Linked DNA regions of Homo sapiens: region 2 is linked to region 1. The links are contacts of gene promoters, found by promoter capture Hi-C in blood cells and fetal thymus (Javierre and others, 2016). All regions are on one chromosome and are shown on one strand. The core of a region is centred on a gene start or on the middle of the fragment in contact, and the rest is flanking DNA. Distances in the headings are between cores, read along the strand shown.

What was found. The method cuts DNA at HindIII sites, captures the fragments that hold promoters and counts their contacts. A CHiCAGO score of 5 or more calls a contact.
Region 2: a fragment that was not itself captured here is called in contact with the fragment with the promoter of TOP1 in region 1 in 1 of 17 cell types (naive CD8 T cells); the score reaches 5.2 in naive CD8 T cells.

The regions. Positions count from the first base shown.
Region 1 is chr20:41,027,458-41,030,822 of GRCh38, forward strand. It overlaps TOP1 (DNA topoisomerase I), which reads left to right and starts at 1,365. Exons shown (of 21, transcript NM_003286.4): 1 at 1,365-1,643; 2 at 1,974-1,998. The coding sequence starts at 1,611. RefSeq lists silencers at 1,064-1,415, 1,636-1,705. The HindIII fragment of the contact is 6,355 bases long and covers 416-3,365 here.
Region 2 is chr20:41,291,366-41,295,143 of GRCh38, forward strand. The region is part of intron 1 of ZHX3 (zinc fingers and homeoboxes 3); the gene reads right to left. Among named protein-coding and RNA genes, the nearest start is that of ZHX3, 24 kb to the right of the region's middle. The HindIII fragment of the contact is 1,045 bases long and covers 792-1,836 here.

The DNA of each region.
Region 1 (3,365 bases), core at 115-2,614:
GCTGGAGTGCAGTGCAGCCTCGACCTCCTCCTCGGGCTCAGGTGATCCTCCCACCTCAGCCTCCCGAGTAGCCGGGACTACAGGCACATGCCACCACACCCCGCCAGTTTTTGTATTTTTTTGTAGAGTCAGGGTTCTGCCATGTTGCCCAGGCTGGTCTTGAACTCCTGGGTTCAAGTGATCTGCCAGCCTCGGCCTCCCAAAGTGCTAAGATTACAAGTGTGAGACACCACCCCCAGCCAGCACATTGTATTAATCCAAGCAGGAGAACGCAGACTTCAAAGGCTTATGGGCAGCAGAGAGAAGTAGATGAAGCAAAGAGATGCAATCAGCGGGACTAGTGGGAAATGAGGGAAAGGAAGGTGTCAGGATGGGGCTTTTTCTAGCTGAGTGGAGTTCAGTTCATTCCCAGAGAAGCTTGAGAGGTATCCAACTATAGATGCAAGGTAGCTGGCTGTTGGTCCCTTGTCTTTAGGACAGTTTGACTTTTGTAATACAGGCGACCTCACAGAGCTATTGTGAGAATTCAGAGCTGGGCACAGAATAGATGCTCTATAAACGGTAGTTCTATTCCCCATTTGCCCCGTCCTCCCAGCATGCCAGGGATACAGGGGCGGATAGAGACAGGTTCAGTTCCCTTTGGTCTCTTGCATTCCCCCTTCCCTCAGCACAATTCCTGGGCTCATAGCGGATGCTCAATAAGTATTTGTAGAATGAACCAAAGAAATCAGACCCTTGGTGACCCAGGGCTACATGTACTCGGCGGAAAACTGGGGTTAAACCGGACCCTTGGTTGGTTGAAAAATTAAAATAATTTTTAAAAAGTGGGCGTGAAATAATCCAGAAGTTGGAGGGCCTGGACAAAGGCTGGGGAGGGGACTCCTCCCACCAGGCGGCCTCAGGGTCGGCTTAGCAAGAAAGGAGGCGCTGGGGAGACCTCTGGGGTCCCAGCTGCCAAGGTACTCGCCGCTCCAAGGAGATGCGGACGCCGGATACCAGCTCTGCCCAAGATTGCTGGGTCCCGCCGCGGCCTTTAAAGGCCCACCACGTGGCTGCGCGGCCAGCCCTGGTCCGGAGGCGGTGCCCGGGTGGCGCCTGCGCACTGCCTAGCAGAGGGGCTGGGGTTCCGAGAAAAAGCGTCTGGAGAGGAAGGGGAGGCTGCTTGGGGTGGGACGCCGTGGGAGGAGTCGGCTCCTTATGCAAATCACAGCGGAGCGCGCACGGTCCGGAGGCGGGGCTTGCGATGCAAAGACAGGTCCGTCTGGCGAACAGCGAGGGGGCGGGCCGCAACCCTCTGCCTCTTTCCGCGAGCGCTGACGTCGCCGACGTGTTGTTTAAAAGCGGCCGCGCAGGCGCAGTGAGCCCAAATGCGAACTTAGGCTGTTACACAACTGCTGGGGTCTGTTCTCGCCGCCCGCCCGGCAGTCAGGCAGCGTCGCCGCCGTGGTAGCAGCCTCAGCCGTTTCTGGAGTCTCGGGCCCACAGTCACCGCCGCTTACCTGCGCCTCCTCGAGCCTCCGGAGTCCCCGTCCGCCCGCACAGGCCGGTTCGCCGTCTGCGTCTCCCCCACGCCGCCTCGCCTGCCGCCGCGCTCGTCCCTCCGGGCCGACATGAGTGGGGACCACCTCCACAACGATTCCCAGGTACGGCCCGGCCTGACCCTGGCGGCCCCGGACCCCGGCCTGGCCGTCCCGCGACCCCCGGCGCAGGCCCCGACCCCAGCCCCGGCCCGGCAGCTTTGACAGGCCGGAGCCCCCGGTGAGGGGCCGCCTGCCGGAGTAGATCGGCTCGCTAGGCCGCGAGCGAGGGCCGCGAAGTTACAGTTCGAGGCAGGGATGGCTGCCCTCTGTGGCCACCCCCGGGTCCCCGTCCTCCCCGGGGGCGCAGGGTGAGCCAGACCCCGGCCGCGCGCGCTCGCCGCCGGAGGGGTTAAAGTGGCTGTTGTTTGATATTCTCTCCTTTTCTTTTTCCAGATCGAAGCGGATTTCCGATTGAATGGTGAGTGTGCCCCCTGCGCCGACTCCGGGGCCCCCCAGCCGCCGGCCGCCTCCCCCGCGCCCTGCCGGTGCCGGGCAGAGGACAGACATGGCGTCCCAGAGACTAAGTCCCGGCTCCTCGCTCACCGGCCCCATTGTTCCCATCGGGCCGCCTCTTGACCCCCTTTCCGGGGACCCCAGCTCCTCCAGATCCCGGCCCTCCCAAGAGGGGACAACGGAGACCCCGTGTCGTCCGCCACCGGGCCTCGGGCGGTCTTTCCGGGCCGGGATTCCTCCCGGGAAAGTCGCCTTGTCGACGGTCGGGACTTAGTCTCTGCGCCATTTTCTTTTTCTCTCTCCTCTCCTTTCTGTGCCTGTGTCTCTTTCTCTCCCTCCCTCGGCTCTTTCCTTGAGCTGCCCAGAATGAGCTTTCTGCAGAGCAAAGCCGTATAAATCACATACTTCACCAGAGAGGGAAGGCTGGGGGACTGAATTATTATTTTTTAAACTTTATTTTGGGGGTTATTCCCTTTATGCTTCATGTTTGTTTCCTTTTCTGCTTCCAGAATGAAAGATTTCCTTAAGCAACTGTTAATTTTTTTTTTGATAGGCTGTTTATGATAGGAATTATGGCTCTAAAACTAAAGCCACGCTTTGTGGAGTTCTTTATATTTCCAGGTTGTTTTTCCCAAGTTACGTTCTTTGCAAAGGTAGCAGTACCTCCCTAAAGAAAGTTTGCAAGTTCTCTGTGGGTCACCCAATGTAAATGTTGGATTTTTAAAAAATTATGTTAGTCACTGGAACTTTTCATTGTGGTCGAGGTTCCCAATGCAGTGTTTTTCTGGAAACGCAGTTTAGTGTACTTGTTGGAAGGAAAGATTGTTGAGCATCTCTTGTGGACCTGGTGTGTTGGCCTTTTCGTTTGGGTTGTAAGGAGGAAAAAAAGATTTTATTTATTGAAGCAAAGAGTGTCCAGTACCCACCCCTGCTTCCTGTTCATTCTTTTTCACGAGCCACTGTTTTTCAGGAATCAAGAACTGGCTTTTTTTTTTTTTCCCAATTCTTTATGTTTTTGAACCCTTTTCAGCCAAATCAAGGCATTTATTCTTACTGTATTTCCACTTCAGTTACCCAGGGAAGAGTCCTCCAATAAAAAGCTCATCCTTGCAGGCTTTCGAACAACCCTGTTGAAGGAGAAGTTACCTTCTGTAGTGTGCTGGGAATTCCCACTGATTTTGATGGTACATAATCCTGCTCAATTGAGTTTGGGTTCCGGGAACCTCTCCAATGGGAGAAGTTGATGAGTAGGTTTTCTAATGTTGTAATCAGCAGTCCATCATGTTAGCCTGCTCTACTGAGAGCAACCTTATGTTCAGAGTTTGAAGTGGG
Region 2 (3,778 bases), core at 64-2,563, 260 kb after region 1:
TAGGATTACGGCAGCATCTCTAAGAAGATGCTAACACCATGTTAGTACAGGATTGGAAAGGGTGGCTGCATCAACTTTTTAAATCTCTTCTAACGAAGACGCAGTAATTATGATAGAAATGACTACACTCTTCTTTGTTAATAATTCAGCAAGCACAGAGCATAAGTACCATATGAAAGCTGTGGTTACATAAATAAAAGATTGATGGACAAGAATATATATATACTATATATTTTGTGGGTTTGGAATATATGTGTGTATACGTATACACACATACATGTATGACACACGTGTTTGTGTATGCATATGTATACACACACAGATATAAGTTTATATATGTATATATTCAAAACCTACAAAAGTTTTTGTATGGGCCATCAATTAAAAGTAAAGCATGAATCTAAAAAAAATGCATTTTTGAGCAATCAGGGAAATTTAAATATAGACTGAGTATTAGATGATATTAAAGAACTATTGTTATTTAGGGGTAAGTTAATGGCACTCTAGTTGTTTTTAAGTTCTATCATTCAAGCCTGGCAAGGTGGCGTGCACCTGTAATCCCAGCTATTTAGGAGGCTGAGGCTGGAGAACCGCTTGAGCCAGGAGAGTTCAACACCAGCCTGGGGAACACAGCAAGACCTCATCTTTAAAAAAAAAAAAAAAAAAAAAAAAGAGTTCTATAATTCAATTACTATTAATACATCCAAGTCATTTCATTTTCAATCTGGATTGAATATTGGCATTATTGCTTATTTTTTATGAAAATAGAGCAGCTGAATTGTCAGTGTCAAAGCTTTGGGGTTTTTTGCTGTTGTCTTTATCCTCCGATTGGGACTTTTGAATTTAATGTCTAGTTACAGGATTCAACTTTTGTGACACATTAGGAAGACACTGTCTCTAATATTTAGGAACCAGAATTATCTGAACATATTAATCAACAGTATACAGAACTGTCCTGTCCCACTGACCAGGTCACAATGAGCTCTACAAAATAAACAAGTGCAAATGCTTTGTTGTCTAAACTTCTTTACTTTCTAACCAATGCTTAATAGTAATTTTTTTTTGAAATGACCAAAAAAGTATGGGTCACAGTGCTGTTTGCCATGTACAAAGGGCAAGAGAAAAGCACCTCTCCCCTAAGCTAAAAGATTAAAAACTTGGAGAAAAGGGAGTTCAGGTGATCACGAACTCTCTACTCTGTGTTTCTACAGAACTCACTTGCTCATCTACGATTCAAAAGCTGCCCTTTGCATGAGTACCTTTCAGTTTAGGAATGTAATTTCAACAGTGCATCCATTTTATCCAAATTCCAATAGAGTAAGAAAAAAATTGGATGCTCCATAACATTTCTTATAAAAGAATTTTATCAGTAACACTGTACTTTCTAGCCAATGCTTAAAAAACTGTTGACTGTCTCTTTTCTGTAACTTTCTGGTATGTGAGAGTATCTCAGATTAATAACTCAAAAAAACAGTATACACAACCACTTTATCAGATGTCCAGATGACAAGAAACTTGAAAAGATACTAAGTATGTTGGGTAACAGCTTGTCTGGCTAGAATAAAAGGTCCAATTGAACATACACAGAGGTGTGCCACCATTTGGAAGCTGGCAAGACAGCCCTGCTGTTGTTTTCTTCATCTACCTAGTGAGATGGGAGACGCACGTTTGATTATAGGGTGTCAAATACCGGCATCAGATAGTATCTGCTGGGGGCTCTGATGGGTACAGCACAGCTACCCAAATACCAAAGGATTTGCTTTCATGAACAACTTTCCCCAAGAACTGTGCCCTGCTACTCAAAAGATGATCAGGGAGACCCACAACATCAGCACAAGCTTAGAGAAAACTTGTTACAAAGGCAGAAGCTCTGCCTCACCCAGACTTTCTGAATCAGAATCTGCATTTTAACCAAATTCCCAGGTAATTTGTATGCACATCACAGTTTGAAAAGCATGGATTTAGAGGATTATTGTCAGTTTGGAAGGAGGTTTCCACAAAACTCTTCCTTGGGCCCCTCCTGTTCCTCATTTTTACTGATGAGTCACATAAGGATATTGAAGAACCCTCATCAAATCCCAAGTAACACTAAACTAGAAGGAAACAATTGCAAAAGCACCTCTTGGAAGAGACCAGGCTTGACAGCTGATCACGTAAAAGAATATAAACAACCAGAGATTTGCTAAAGAAAAAAAAAAGTAAGGCACACTTGAGTATACTGCTACAAATCAGACCACTTCTAGAGAACTAGCTATAAGTCTGGTCACACATTCTAAGTGACTGACAGTGAACTGTGGTCACACAGTTTGGTGAGAAACAAGGAGGGAAAGGGATCTGGAAATTCTATCGAAAAGAATGGCTGAACTGAAGGATCTTAAACCTGAAGAAGAGGTGACAATGTGGGGACATCATGGTCATATTCACACATCTGAAAGATTGTCTCAAGACATTTCATTCTACAAATGTGTTTTTGAGCATCTGCTATGTGCCAGGCACCATGCCAGGAGCTAAGGATACAGAGAGTGAAAACCAGAACAGATCTCTAATTTTCTGATGTTTCTTGCCTAATGGAAGAAACCTGCCTGTTTTTCCAGAAAGCACAACTCCAGACAATCAAAGGCAAGTGGAAGGACATGGGCACCATTCAAGGAAGCCCCTTCTGGCCAGAAGGCTACAGCTTTGTAAAGAAGTGAATAGACAAAAGTTCCGAGGCTCCCCAGGGCTGGAAAGAATGAGTTAAGAAAGGATGACCACCTCCCAGGGAGTAGTAGCTCAGGGGACTAACAGGCCAATGCTAATATTCCAGGGCTAGAGGATGCTTGGGGTCAATGACATTAATCCAAGATTTGTTTAGAATTATGCTACATTCAATTTAGCTGACAACAAAATTTTTAAAACTTAACAATTTAGAATTAACAGCTAAATTTTGTATGTAAATGATGTCATACCTTAAACTTATGAGTAAATGATGTCTAAGTTCTCATTTAGTAATAGTTTGTTGTTGTTGCTGTTTTGAGATGGAGTCCCACTCTGTCTCCCAGGCTGAAGTACAGCGATATGATCTCGGCTAACTGCAACCCCTGCCTCCTGAGTTCAAGTGATTCTCCTGCCTCAGCCTCCCGAGTAGCTGGGATTACAGGCACCCCCCCACCACACCTGGGTAATTTTTGTATTTTTAGTAGAGATGGAGTTTCAACATGTTGGCCAGGCTAGTCTCGAACTCCTGACCTCAAGTGATCCATCCACCTCAGCCTCCCAAAGTGCTGGGATTACAGGCATGAGCCACTGTGCCCAGCCTTAGCAATAGTTTTTAAAACCTAAGATTTAATAAAAATCCACATTATTTATTGATTGATTTTTTGAGATGGAGTCTTGCTCTGTTGCCTAGGCTGGAGTGCAGTGACACAATCTCTGCTCACTGTAATCTCTGCCTCCTGGGTTCAGGCGATCCTCCCACCTCAGCCAGACCATACGCATGTGCCATCACACCTGGCTAATTTTTATATTTTTTGGTAGAGATAGGTTTTCAACATGTTGGCCAGACTGGTCTTGAACTCCTGACCTCAAGTGATCCATGCGCCTCGGCCTCCCAAAGCGCTGGGATTATACATAGGCATGAGCCCCTGCGCCCAGCCCACATTAATATTTTAAGTAAAAACTCTGTATTAATGACTTATTTCAATTGTACTCTTCTCTCAGCTATCCCTCAAACTACTATATTTCCAGTTCCTTGATGTAGCTTCAGAGTTGCTCATTCCACTCCCAAAATTATCCTAAA